5 separate regions of the Homo sapiens genome follow, and all the other regions are linked to region 1. Evidence: promoter capture Hi-C in 16 types of primary human blood cells and fetal thymus (Javierre and others, 2016). All regions are on one chromosome and are shown on one strand. Each heading gives the region's core, a stretch centred on a gene start or on the middle of the fragment in contact. The rest is flanking DNA. Distances are from core to core; before and after follow the strand shown. Region 1 holds the start of METTL13 (methyltransferase 13, eEF1A N-terminus and K55). Region 2 overlaps RABGAP1L (RAB GTPase activating protein 1 like). Region 3 holds the start of RC3H1 (ring finger and CCCH-type domains 1). Region 4 overlaps ZBTB37 (zinc finger and BTB domain containing 37). Region 5 overlaps DARS2 (aspartyl-tRNA synthetase 2, mitochondrial).

The links. Contacts are between HindIII fragments. The CHiCAGO score rates a contact against its expected background, and 5 or more counts as called.
Region 2: a fragment that was not itself captured here is called in contact with the fragment with the promoter of METTL13 in region 1 in 4 of 17 cell types (total CD4 T cells, naive CD8 T cells, non-activated CD4 T cells and 1 more); the score reaches 9.5 in total CD4 T cells.
Region 3: a contact is called between the fragment with the promoter of RC3H1 here and the fragment with the promoter of METTL13 in region 1, in 6 of 17 cell types (fetal thymus, non-activated CD4 T cells, total CD4 T cells and 3 more). The highest score is 11.9, in fetal thymus.
Region 4: a fragment that was not itself captured here is called in contact with the fragment with the promoter of METTL13 in region 1 in 5 of 17 cell types (fetal thymus, non-activated CD4 T cells, total CD4 T cells and 2 more); the score reaches 12.8 in fetal thymus.
Region 5: a contact is called between a fragment that was not itself captured here and the fragment with the promoter of METTL13 in region 1, in 6 of 17 cell types (fetal thymus, non-activated CD4 T cells, naive CD8 T cells and 3 more). The highest score is 13.5, in fetal thymus.

What each region holds. Positions count from the first base shown.
Region 1 is chr1:171,780,339-171,782,992 of GRCh38, reverse strand. It overlaps METTL13 (methyltransferase 13, eEF1A N-terminus and K55), which reads right to left and starts at 1,333. Exons shown (of 8, transcript NM_015935.5): 1 at 873-1,333. The coding sequence starts at 1,025. RefSeq lists enhancers at 987-1,520, 1,350-1,644. The HindIII fragment of the contact is 1,150 bases long and covers 946-2,095 here.
Region 2 is chr1:174,162,525-174,165,178 of GRCh38, reverse strand. The region is part of intron 1 of RABGAP1L (RAB GTPase activating protein 1 like); the gene reads right to left. Among named protein-coding and RNA genes, the nearest start is that of RABGAP1L, 4.3 kb to the right of the region's middle. The HindIII fragment of the contact is 151 bases long and covers 1,287-1,437 here.
Region 3 is chr1:174,021,003-174,023,656 of GRCh38, reverse strand. It overlaps RC3H1 (ring finger and CCCH-type domains 1), which reads left to right and starts at 1,300. Exons shown (of 20, transcript NM_172071.4): 1 at 1,300-1,561. It overlaps RC3H1-DT (RC3H1 divergent transcript), which reads right to left and starts at 1,174. Exons shown (of 2, transcript NR_187284.1): 1 at 1,017-1,174; 2 at 467-874. RefSeq lists silencers at 1,065-1,314, 1,425-1,744 and enhancers at 1,951-2,490, 2,555-2,654. The HindIII fragment of the contact is 5,810 bases long and covers 1-2,654 here.
Region 4 is chr1:173,870,424-173,873,077 of GRCh38, reverse strand. It overlaps ZBTB37 (zinc finger and BTB domain containing 37), which reads right to left. Exons shown (of 5, transcript NM_001122770.3): 3 at 1,930-2,654. Among named protein-coding and RNA genes, the nearest start is that of ZBTB37, 3.4 kb to the right of the region's middle. The HindIII fragment of the contact is 2,862 bases long and covers 1-2,654 here.
Region 5 is chr1:173,827,563-173,830,216 of GRCh38, reverse strand. DARS2 (aspartyl-tRNA synthetase 2, mitochondrial) reads right to left here. Exons shown (of 17, transcript NM_018122.5): 3 at 1,818-1,884. Among named protein-coding and RNA genes, the nearest start is that of CENPL, 4.0 kb to the right of the region's middle. The HindIII fragment of the contact is 914 bases long and covers 874-1,787 here.

The DNA.
Region 1 (2,654 bases), core at 84-2,583:
AGAATTCAAAGATTGCACATGCACATACACAGCACCCAACATAAGGCTTGGCACATAAAGCTTCCCCACAAATGTTAAGTTTTCTACCTTCCTCCTTCCCTACCTCCAGTACAATCTCACCTATACCAAACCCATTGTTGTACTTATCACGTTTCACTTCTGGAACATGTGCAGGGTTTACGTCTTAATGCTCTTATAGTTTAAGGACTGAGCAGTGCCTGAAACTTGGGGCGCACTCAACGACTATTTGAAAAACAAATTCATACACAAAGTCACACCTGCTGCAGGTTGCACAGGAATGCACAGTGACAGAAGAACATACTTTCAAGATGGGAAGTCACTCTTCAAGTAGGGTTATTAATCCAAGAATGAGCTGGGGTGGGAGGTCTATTATCTGAAAACCTTTAAAGAAATGTTTTTTTTTTTAGACAGGGTCTCACTCTGTCACCCAGGCTGGAGTGCAGTGGCGTGATCATGGCTCACTGCAGCCTCGACCTCCTGGGCTCAAGCGATCCTCCCGCCTAAGCCTCCCGAGTAGCTGGAAATACAGATGCGCGCCACCACGCCCGGCTAATTTTTTCATTTTTTGTAGAGACGAGGTCTCATGTTCCCCAGGCTGGTCTTTAACTCCAGGGCTCAAGCGATCCTCCCACCTCGGTCTCCCAAAGTGTTCGGATTACAGGTGTGAGCCACTGCGCCCGGCCTGAAAGAATATTCTAGTTTGTCTTTTAGCAGGAACAATGCAGGAAATGCTGAAATATGCGTCCAACTAGGGTCCTCCCGCCTGTCACTGTCCACCAAGTGCAAGATTCCTGTTACCAGTTCCCACCTTCCGGAGCACGTACGAAGGGCTACCAACCCGCGCTCCTCACCTTTTCCCTGGGCTTGATATATTTATGTAGCACCCCGCACAGTTCCAGGTAGGTTCCATACCACTCGAAAGCTTTCTTTCCTCGCTGCTGGAAGAACTTCTCCCAATAGTCAACGGAGCCAAACTCCCTGGAACTTTTAGGTAAGAGGTTCATGTTCCTACTGCCGAAGCTGCGTTTTCAAGACTCCCCTATTCCCTGTGAGATACCATTTGAGGAGCTTGCCCACCACACGCAGGCTCCGGGACACTGCAGTGGGAATTCTTTCCACGGAAAAACAGCCACATTGATTTGTTCCCCCACTCCAAACCCCAGGAATGACCCTTACACGACAAACGCACGCATGGACCACTGAATCTCACACACGCTTGCCCCCTCCTCCGCGCCTGCTGTTCCTTCCCCACGTGAAGAGCCCCTCACACTTTTCCCGAACTAGATTTCCGAGCCCATAACCATATCCGGGTGCGAAGCCTCGTGATTCGTCGGCCGGCCCAGCCCAACTCAGCTAGTCATTGGTCGCTGCTTTGCGTTTCTATCACCTCATTGGCTGCGACGTGCTTGCCTTTCTCCGGAGGCTCCGTCGCAGACACCTAAACGCTTTTTTGACCTGAGGCCGGCCGACCATTCACGGAACGGGGCGGGACCGCGGGCCGGAGTTGTGGCGGAAGAGGCCGGGCCTCTGTGAGAACTAGGTCACGTCCGGGTGAGGAGTGAGCGCGGCTGTGCTGTGGTTGGGCCCTCCCTCCAGGCGGGGCGGAGAGCGCGCTTGCTTCCTGGGCTCGGCCTCCGCTTTGTCTTGGAGCCGGCTTAATCACTGACTCCGATCGTGCGCCGCACAAGGGCGGAGCGCGGCAGGCGGGAGCGTACTGGTAGAGGAGGACGAAAAGAAAAACCTATACAGATAGGAGAGAAGTGAGGCAGGAAATGAGTAAAGCCAGTCCGTCGTAAAAACGCTGCACATTCTAACCTTGTCAGCTTCTGCGCACCAGCACCCCCCGCCTTATTTTGCCACCTCTGCACCAAAATATAGGATTCTGCTATCAAAAGTGTAATAACATGAAAACTCCCTCTTCCTTCTCTCCGCAAAGCACAGCATGCAAAACTAGCCTTTCATTTTGATAATTGGCCTCCTTGTGTTATTCTGACGTTATTTATAACTGCTTATTTTATGTGTTTGATAAACATACTGTACTTTCACATGCTCATGCTAATACCCTGAGGAAGCTTCTGTGAAGGGCACTTTTTTTTCAGACAGGGTCTGTCTCTGTCGCCCAGACTGGAGTGCAGTGGTGCAGTCATGGCTCACTGCAGTCTCCACTTTCCAGGGGTCAGGGGATCCTCCCACCTCAGCCTCCCAAGTAGCACGCCACTACCGCTGGCTAATTTTTTTTTTTTTTTTGTAGAAATGGGGTTTCGCCATGTTGTCCGGGCTGTTCTCAAACTCCTGAGCTCAAATGATCATCTCGCCTCACCCTACCAAAGTGCTGGGATGACTGGTGTGAGCCACTATGCTGGCAGGCACTATTTGAAAATGACCAAATATGTGTATCACTGGGCCTTTCATACCATGATAAATTGCAGGAGGAATATACTGATTGCGGAGAGCAGATAGGCTTGGAATTGAGCATGTGTGCTGTGGGCTGTTACATACTACACTACCACAGGTAGATAGCCAGGTAGACTGTTAATAGTTAAGTAGGTTAGATTGGACTTAAACATTGGTTTAAAAAAGTGATTCTCAAACTGGCATGCGTCAGAATCACCTGGAGGACTTGTTAAAACACA
Region 2 (2,654 bases), core at 113-2,612, 2.4 Mb before region 1:
AAAACAAACAAACAAACAAAAATAAAAGTAATCTCTCCCTCCTCTCTAAACTCTTATAGTTCCTTATCTTTATCTTTTTACCACCCATTACTTTCTGCCTTTCATTATCACTGTTGTTTCCATATTTAATCCCCCACCTAAGCATAAAGTCCTCAGGGTCAAGGTCCATCTTTATTCAAACTGATTAACACAATCCCTTATACACACTAAGTGAGGTTAGGAAAGAAGCCCACCAGAAACAACTCCAGATTGAGTCCAGAGCCCTGGCTTTGCTAATAACTCACTATCTGACCTTGGCCTTGAGGCTCTTAGTATGTTCCTTCACTTACAAAGTTAAGAGGGTAGGCTAAACTAGTTGTATTTGTTGTTAAATGTAGGCTATAATCCATTAGCTGGGTGTAAAATTAATTTGGAAGTCAAAACCCAGCATTTTTAAAATGAAATGAAATAACAGAATATATCAATGTGTGTTATAAGCAGTGGGGTGCTATAAATGTTTAACAACTACCTATGAGGAGGGAAGCCCTAAGAATACCATTTGCTGAATTTCCTGGTGTAAATATTCCCACCATGACCAATTTTGAGCTACCAACATGATGTCACTGGACAAAGAGCTAGATAGGAAGAAATATGCACAACTGGTCTTGCAAGCCATTATAGCTAACTCAGTAGGGCCCTGAAAAGATAAATATTATTTCACCAAACTTTCAACTTTGTGTGTGTGTGCGCTTGCGGAATCAAGTAGTAAAATGTATTTTTTATTGTGGGTCACAGTCAAATGAGTTTAATAAATGTTCAGGTAAACAATCTCCTGGTGTCCTTCATGTATACTACATAATTTGATAAATCTTACTCTTGGTTACAGATGTCTCTTCACCACAATTCATATTTTTCTTCAAAAATGGGAGTAACAAACTGATATCACCAGAAGGCAAATTACACAGAGCAGGAATTTGGTTTATGGAATATCAGCCAAGTGCCAAGGTTTTTAGCATTTGTTCAGCCCTACATACCTGAAGGATATAACACACTCCTACTATCAATGGCTCACTTAGCAATGGGTTGGGGGGCAGGTAGGGGGTAAGAGGAGGAAATCCATAGTATAAAAAAAAAATCCAGATAATTCTAGTATTTGTGCTCATGTTCCCACCCCACTGAATACCCAGATACACAGAAAATTAGAGCAGTAAAAAGTAAATGTTCCATGCCTGATGTTTCCCAATCAAATTCCCTTGCATCCCTCAATGAGACTTCCATTACTAAGAATCACCTACTGGAACTAAGCTTTTACCATGGACTAGGGATGCATAGTTCTTGCTGAATTTAGAACAGGCAACAGGGAAAATAACACAGCAAACAGTTGTTAGGCTTCATATTCTGGGAAAATCAGCCTTTTATTAAAAAAAAAAACTGTCTTATTTTCCTCTTATTTAAGCTTACTAAACTGGGTGAGAATTTTCTTAAATATATTTTTGGCTGTACTATGTCTATCACAACACAGCCTGTAACCAGATTTTTCATGAGTATTTATAAAGAATTGTGTTGTTGTTGGGTTTTTTTTTTTTTTAAGCCCAACAGCACTGGCAAATGTTTTCTACTTTAAAAGCTATTTAGAAAATAAGAAGGCTCAGAATTTCAAGTATACTAATAATCTTAGCCCAAATCTAACTCTAAATCAACTGAATATATGCCTAGAACTTTCCCAGGAAAATCCCCAAAAAGTACACCAAAAAACACCAAAAGATAACAAAAAAGAGTTAGCATGCGCATAAACTTCGTATACCCAATTATGCCATCCCATCTGTTGAATAAGAGCAATATGGGAAGTAAACGAAGTATAAAAAGAAGATGTTCAGAGATGCAAGCTCTTCTTAATTCATTAACTCTTCCTTATTAGGGTCCACTGATGTTCACATACTTATACCCAATTCAAATACTGACTATAAAGTCAAAATTATTTCCCGTTCTGAAAGTCTAGGAGTCAAACAATGTCTTTCTCTATAATATCAGCATTAAAACTCTCCTTTAAAAATGAGTATGTTTTACCATAACTCAGGCTCAAGTCCGTACTTTCTCCGCCTCCACTGTTTGTAATGGCAAAATGCTCATCAGATCATCTCCACAAGAAACCCCTGAGCCATCTTTGAAATACCAGCACCTGGTGCGCTGCACCCACTAACTCATCATCTAGCATTAGGTATATCTCCCAATGCTATCCCTCCCCCCTCCCCCCTCCCCACCACAGTCCCCAGAGTGTGATATTCCCCTTCCTGTGTCCATGTGATCTCATTGTTCAATTCCCAGCATGGCACATGTATACATATGTAACTAACCTGCACAATGTGCACATGTACCCTAAAACTTAAAGTATAATTAAAAAAAAAAAAAAAAAAAAAAAAAACAGAAAGAGAAAAAAAAAAAAAAAGAAATACCAGCACCTGGAATAGCCTTGGGCTGCTGGTCATCCTCAGACTCAACGGCTGACCCATTTATATAAGTCAAGAGTTATAAAAATATAGAACTCATTAAAATTAAGACATAAGCAAGCTCTGTGCCTGGGAATCCCATAGGCTTACAGCAACAACTTCATTCTCCAAACCCCCTCTAACCAGTCATAATGATCCATACCCCACTTGAAGACAATGGTAGGTTGG
Region 3 (2,654 bases), core at 51-2,550, 2.2 Mb before region 1:
GTACAGAGGCCTGGTCTGAGAAGGGAAAGGCTTTAAGAGATCCCTTTAGATTGGCACATGCTAACCTAAATCCCCCTGTGGTAGCTAGAAATTCACTCTCTGTAGGACTGGGGTTACTATTTAGTAGGCTGAAAAGACGATTACAGATTAAACCCAGTTCAGAGGCAGCAAATTCCAATCAGTGGAAAGACAACAATAGGTCTTCTAAACAGAAGCTGAGATCTCAGTAGCAGGAGGGTGCTAACAACTAAAAAGAATTCTTCTCTGCCAAGAGTTTAGGAAGGTGTGTGATATTTCTTAAAAATAATACAAAAACACTATCTGTGATAGCGATTCCAATGTATCAAGTTAAAGGCAGAAGTGCTTCTCTTGGGGTACTGTGATGTAAACAGTGAAGAAAGGACAGAAAAACATAATCTCTGCTCTCTTGGTCAAATCCTGAAGCAAAAAAGGTGATAGCGCCGAGTAGAGGTATTAAATGGTTGTTTATTTGGGGACTCTCTCTCTCCTCTATTCTAGATGATTTATTTTGAAATTAGTACTGTATGGTGTTACAATAATCCCATTTCTTCCCCTTCTCAAAAGCGAGGGTTTGGCTAAAATGAATTGTCTGAAGGGACCTCCCATTCCCCAAAACCAAAACGGCACCTTTTCCACAAGGGACAAGAAACTTTTAAAGAGTCGCAAGGTTAGATTTCAGGAGCCCTTCTATGGGCCATATCTTTTCCTGTCGTCCCCAAATAGCTCTTATTGTTCACACAGCCCAGGAGAGACGTTTTGGAGTAGCGTGTCCGGGCCTTTTGGGCTGTTTCACAGCCTTAGGAGGCTGAACTCCCAGAGGGGTGACGAGGACAAAGCTGATGAGATCCAGAACCTGGATAATATGGAAGAAGAAAAATGGGGTGGGGGACAAGACGTGAAAAAGAAACAAGAGTTGGGGGACAACGGCTGAGAAAGCCGAAAGAGTAGACGTAGTGTGGGGTTCGATGGAAACGAAAGAAATTCCCCCAATTTACTCTCGCCATCTGGCCACTGGCCCGCTGAGCCCAAAGGCGCCGGTGCGGGAGGGCAGACCGGACCGAGGGACCGGTTCATCTGCTCAGGGCGTGTGAGACTTTCGGTCGCGGCGGAGAGCGTCGCCGGTCTCCCTCCGGGCGTTGGTGGCCGGTGACTCAGAGCTTTGCTCCCGCGCCCGCCCCTCCCCTCCGCCCGCCCCGCCTCCTGAGGGAGGATCCTCGCCCTCGTCTCCGCCCCAGTCTCCGGGGCGGGCCGGAGCCTGAGGAAGAGGAAGGGGACGAGGACAACGAGCGACTGGGCGGCGGAGGACGAGGAGGAGGAAGAGGAGGCCGAGCAACAAGATGGCCCCTGCTGCAGGAGCAGCCTCAGCAGCAGCAGGTGGGAGGCCGGAGGCGGTGCTGGCGGTGGCGGCGGCAGCCGTGGCCCGGCGGCCTGGGACAGAATCAGAGTCAACGGTGGCCTCGGCGGCGGCGGCGGCTGCCGCGGCGGTGGCGACGGCCGCGGGGACTCGGAGCTGAGAGGAGCTGCTGCTCGGACCAGCGCGGTGAGCGAGCGGCGGGCGGCGACTTGGGGAGCGGGGCTGCCGCGGCCGGGGCCTCAGTCGGGAACAATAGGCAGCTGTGGTCGGGAAGGGTTTGTCCTCGCCCGCCCTCTGCTCCTCCGCGGCAGCGGCAGCCCGGCCGGCCCCAGGCTCCTCAGGGCCCCCGCCGGCTGTTCTGGGGCTTGTCAGTGGCCGGCGTCCTTTAGGCCTCAGGCCTCTGCATGCCGCCTGTAGGGCCTGTCGGGGTAGGTAGGCCGAGAGGAGGACGAAGGGAGGCTCGGACGAGAGGGAGGGGGCGAAAGGGCTACCTGGCTCCTGTGGTACTCCCAGGGCCTGGGCCAGGCGGGGAATGCGCACGGGAACTGCTTTTTGGACCCCTAGTCTGTGGGGGTGGGGGAGGGCGAAGGCGTCTGTAAACAGGCGCCGCCTCGGCCTCCCAGCACCTCAGGGCTGCTTCCTCCCCCAGCCCCTGAAGCGCTCCCCTTCTTTGGCCAAGTGGATTTCACGGTGTCTGTTTCCCTGAAGTCCCTGGAGATCTAGCCTGGTAGTCTTCTCCCTGCTGGCGATGGGAAAATTGTGTGTGTGCAGGTGTCTTTAAAAAAAAAAAACAAAAAACTTAAATGCAACAAAAACATATAAAATGTGGTTATCGGTAAAGGATGGAGTGGTAAGGGATGCGCCTCTCTAAACATCTCTAAGTATCAGTTCTATAAACATCAGTTATGCCCGCATCCCAGGTGAGAGTGGATTGAAACAAGGGCTCTTTTGGAACAGTAATAACACAACTCTTGACATACCAGAATAGCCTATGAAACTGGAAACAAACACTGGCAACGCGGAGACAAACTGTAATGTTTAAAGAGGACTTTTATTCCAGCTAGGCGTTTTGAATTACTAACATGCAGTATAAGAAGCAACATTAACTAGCATAAAGTGGACCTCAGGAAGCACTTCGAAAGGAGACAGGTGGTTCATCTCCGGCCATAGAGCTTCTTGTGCCTTGTCTCGTGTTTCAGTAATTTTTCCTGAAATTGTTCAAGACCAGTCTTTTCTCTGAGTTTGAAATTTGATTTCGTTTTTGTTTTGTTTTGCGACG
Region 4 (2,654 bases), core at 50-2,549, 2.1 Mb before region 1:
GACTATTGATATAGATCATGGAGATTAAAAAATCTTTGCATTGAAATTGATATTACTTTTTTTTTTTTTTTGAGACAGAGTCTTGCTCTGTTGCCCAGGCTGGAGTACAGTGGCGTGATCCCAGCTAACTGCAACCTCCACTTCCTGGGTTCAAGCGATTCTCCTGCCTCAGCTGGCCCAGTAGCTGAGACTACAGGTGCGTGCCACCACGCTCAGCTAATTTTTGTATTTTTAGTAGAGATGGGATTCACCATGTTGGCCAGGCTGGTCTCAAAGTCCTGGCCTCAAGTGATCCACCTGCCTCAGCCTCCCAAAGTGCTGGGATCACAGGTGTGAGCCACCACACCTGGCCCTGATATTACTTCTGATAGTTTTTTTTAAAATTTTATTTCCATAAGTTATCATGGAACAGGTGGTATCTGGTTACATAAGTAAGTTCTTTGGTGATTTGTGAGATTTTGGTGCACCCATCACCCGAGAACTTCTGATACAGTTCTAACATAGGAGGACAAGTTCTATGCTCAAGATTATTTTAATAAGGACACAGGAAGACAATACTCAAATCAAGATCACCTGAAGCCAGGCACAGTGGCAGGAGAAACGCCTGAACCCAAGAGGTAGAGGCTGCAGTGAGCCAAGATTGCACCACTGCACTCTAACCTGGGCAACAGAGTGAGACTTCATCTCAAAAATAAAATAAAATAAGGCCGGGCGCAGTGGCTCACACCTGTAATCCCAGCACTCTGGGAGGCTGAGGCAGGTGGGTCACGAGGTCAGGAGATCGAGACCATCCTGGCTAGCATGGTAAAACCCCATCTCTACTAAAAACACACACACAAAAATTAGCTGAGCATGGGGGCAGGGACCTGTAGTCCCAGCTACTCGGGAGGCTGAGGCAGAAGAATGGTGTGAACCTGGGAGGCAGAGCTTGCAGTGAGCCGAGATCGCACCACTGCACTCCAGCCTGGACGACACAGCGAGACTCCGTCTCAAATAAAATAAATAAAATAAAATAAAAAGACCACCTGAAGTGGATACAGTATACACTAACTGAATCTCTGTGATACATTTGTTTCTCAAGACCAAAGTAATAGTTTTTTAGTTTTCTTTGCTCATATAGTCAATTTAAATTTATTTTTAAGAGGGAAAAAGAACAAATATTACCAATCTAAATTAGTAATATTTCTTTCAATTGAGACTTTCTCTCAATTGACTGAAACCCATGGTATTTCCACCAAAAAGAAATGTCTAATAAATACAATGTATTAAAAGAGAAAAGTGAGGCATGGGGCATAGCAGCACTGGTGAAAAAAAGGGAGATTGTCAGGCCTGTGGTAGCAGCAGTCATCCATGAAAGAAAACAGGGAAGATACCATCACGTGACAAGGGAAAAAAGAGATGAAAAATATCCATAACGCTTTTCTTCAGAATTACTATTTTACTAATTTGAAAAGAACAATTACTGCTGGTACCATACTTCCTCTAATTTGGTAGTTGGGGGCAAAGAAAAGCAAGCAGTGCTACAAAGGAAAGTGAGACTCCTGGAGGCCACCTACCTGTGTGATAACACACCAAGGAAGGGCAATGCTGCTAGGTTCCCAGCTGATGATCGGCTCCCTGCCTCGAATCCCGAGGAAGCCCTGGCAATTACTGATCCTATCCTAGTGTGGCTGCAGATGCTATTCTGATTCACGGAAGTGTCTAACTTTACCACAGTTCTCACAACATTGTGAATACTTCAGGAATGGAGCTTCCTGGTTTAAAAAAATAAGAATGCAAGTCTTTTGGCACACCTCCAGTTTCCCCATCATCAACTTATTTTGACCAAGAAAATCAGGTAAGGAAAATGCTCTCTGTACTACAGAGGACACTTTAGTGATGTCTACACAATAGCCATTACATGGGAAAACCAAACCAAACCAAACCTACCTGTCAACTTCACTGCTTGTTGGCCGAGCCACCTTGGCTCCTGAAGACCCTAAAGTATAATTTTCCTGTCCTACAGAACCATGGCCTGTGGTATCAATCACCATGGCTGTTACTTCCTCTGCACTACTCCCATCTTCTCCAGAAGGCTGATTCTCAGGCCCAAGCCACTCCTCCAGATTTTCAGTTTTGATGTGTACTGCTCCAAGAACTCTAACTTCATCATCACTCCGACCCCCACGGTCCGCCACTCCTGTCTCCACATACCACTGTCCTGCTCGGTTGATCCGAAGAATGGGCTCCCGGCTCTCTACATCAGAACTTGGTTCAATGATCTGAGGGCTGGTGGACTCCTCAGGAGGACTTAGCTCTCTGATATCCAGCACAGCACTAACCTGACCTCGCCGGTTTCCCTTTGGGGTATTATGTCGTGGGCTAAGGGAGCGGTTGAGATTTGGTGTAACCCTGTGAGACTCTGGAGGTCTCTCTTGATGCTTTGTCCTTGTTTGACTTAATTCTGCTTCAACCTCAGCCACATTAATTTTGAAATGAATGCCCTCCAGGATCTGTGTACATTTGTCTATAATATGCTGCATTTGCAGAAAACTGGCAGCTGTTAGGTAGCTGATGATATCTGCCAGTTGCAGGCATATCCGCCCTGTGTAACAGAAAGAAAGGAGCTGTTCAAAAACAGTAGGGTTCTTGATGACTGAAATGGAGACTGTACT
Region 5 (2,654 bases), core at 81-2,580, 2.0 Mb before region 1:
TTAAGAGCTGAATAAATAATATTTTTCTTAGGCATACAAGCGTTAGTAAAAATTGCAATAGAAACCAACTTTGCCCAGTAAGTATGATGGAAGTTCTTTATTTTATCTAATTCTTTAATTTTAATTTTTTTTTTTGACACAGGGTATCACTCTGGTGTGCACTCTGGAGTGCAGTGGTGCAATTTTGGCTCACTTCAGCCTGAACCTCCTGGGCTCAGGTGATTCTCCCAACTCAGCCTCCCAAGTAGCTGGGACTACAGGCACATGCCACCACACCCAGCTAATTTTTTGTATTATTATTATTTTTTTGAGATAGAGTCTTGCTCTGTTGCCTAGGCTGGAGTACAGTGGCGTGATCTCGGCCCACTGCAACCTCTGCCTCTGGGTTCAAGTGATTCTTTTGCCTCAGCCTCCTGAGTAGTTGGGGTTACAGGAGCCCGCCACCACACCCGGCTAAATTTTTGTATTTTTAGTAGAGACGGGGTTTCACCATGTTGGTCAGGCTGGTCTTAAACTCCTGACCTCGAGATCCACCTGCCTCAGCCTCCCAAAAGTGCTGGGATTACAGGAGTGAGCCACCGCACCTGGCCAATTTTTTGTATTTTAGTAGAGACGAGGTTTCACTGTTGCCCAGGCTGGTCTCAAACTCCTGTACTCAATCTGCTGGCCTCGGCCTCCCAGAGTGCTGGGATTACAGGTGTGAGCCACCATGCCTGGCCTTGAATTTTTTAATTAAAAAAATTTTTTTTTCAGAATATCACTCTGTCATATTTTATCTAATTTCAATGGTAATTAAATTAAATACTTTTTTGAGCAGTAATACCGTCACATGGCTTCAAATTCAAGGGGTACAAAAAGATATAGTAAAAAGCTTCCCTCCTATCCTTGTTTTCAACGCCCTCAGTTCCTTCCCCCAGCAGCACCTAATGTTACCAGATACTTAGGTATCCTTCCAGAGACATTTCCTAACATATATACAAGCAAATACACACACACACACACACACACACACTGAATGTATATTCTGCATCCTTCCCCCAGTTTTTATACAGATGACAGCACTTAGAGTGCTGGAGTTTAACAGCTGCTCTTTTGTATACTCAAGAATACAGGGTTCTTCACTTAACAGTATTCCTTGGATTTTTTTTTCCCTATTAGAATAGAACTTCTTCATTCTTTTTTGTACGGCTGAGTAGAGTATTGTATTGTAAGAATATACATTATTTTTTAAGCCAGTCTCTTATTGGAGGACATCTGGGTGGTTCCCAATTTTTTTCCGTTAAAAAGAATCCTGAAATGAATATCCTTGTACATATGTCATTTTATATCTGTATAAGTCTAGATATAAGATAATTTACCAGAAGTGAAATTAATGGCTCAAAGGATATATGCATTTATAGTTTTGATATTGCCAAATTGCTCTCCCTTCAGCTAGTGCCAATTTGTACTCCCTCCAGGTATTGAGCACCTGCTTTCCCAAACACAGTGTGTTGTCAATCTAATGTGTTAAAAATGACAATTACATGCAGTTTCAATTCACATTTCTCTACCTATGAGTGAGGCTGGGCATACTTTCATTATGTCTACAAGCCATTTATATATTTTTTTCCTCTAAATTTTTTGTTCGTATCCTGGGTTCCTAATTCTACTGGGTCACTGGTCTTTTTGCTATGTCTTAACATTGCTTATATTTTTCAGTTTTCATTAACAATAAACTTCTGAATTTAAAACCTCTAACATATTCATCTAACTACTTAGCTTACCCCAGCAATAGCATCAAAGAAGCTTTTAGATAATAACAGGAAATTTTCTATTACCTCATCCTGGGGAATGATAACTTGAACAAGCCCATCGAAATCTCTTAGGACCAAGAATGTGTTTTGCCTGATTAATGGGGGGGGGGAAAAGAAACATTTTAAGATAAAATCTCTAAGTCCAAAGTTGAAGCATACAAAATAAAAAGCAAACAAAAATCCATGCAATTTTTCATGTTTCTTTTTTATGATAATTATAATTTTTCATGTTTTTTATGATAATTATGTACCTTCATTAGTTACATTCATGCAATTGTTATCTATGTAGCTCATTGCCAAAAAAAAGATTGTTTTTTATTTCAGTTTCAATTTTTATTGTCTACTTACCTGGTATATTAATCTTATACAGATGGCTTATTAATGAAAAATTATTATAGATGAACAATTAAAAGAAATTTCATTGGCTTAAGTCCTTTTAAGAAAATTTTATTAAATTTGGAAACTTTGCATATAGTAAAATCCAAAGATAGTATTTTAGCATAATAGAAACATCTGATGGATCATTTTTGAAATATAGCAATATAGTCTTTTTCTAAAAAAAGATACAATCTAACATTTTCTGGAAGAGTTCCAACTACTAATTTAATACCTCTATGAATCATCAAAAGGTCCCAGAAATGCCAACATTTTAACATCCAACCTCTATTTCTCATACTATCCTCAGCATCAGGAACAGGTACAGAAACCCTCTTCAGATTTGGGTTCAGGAAACAGTCACTAAACTTATGGGAAAAATATCCACCTACTTGGGACAAACTTTTTTTTTTTTCCTGAGACGGAGTCTCGTTCTGTTGCCCAGAGTGGAGTGCAGTGGCGCAATCTCAGCTCACTGCAACCTCT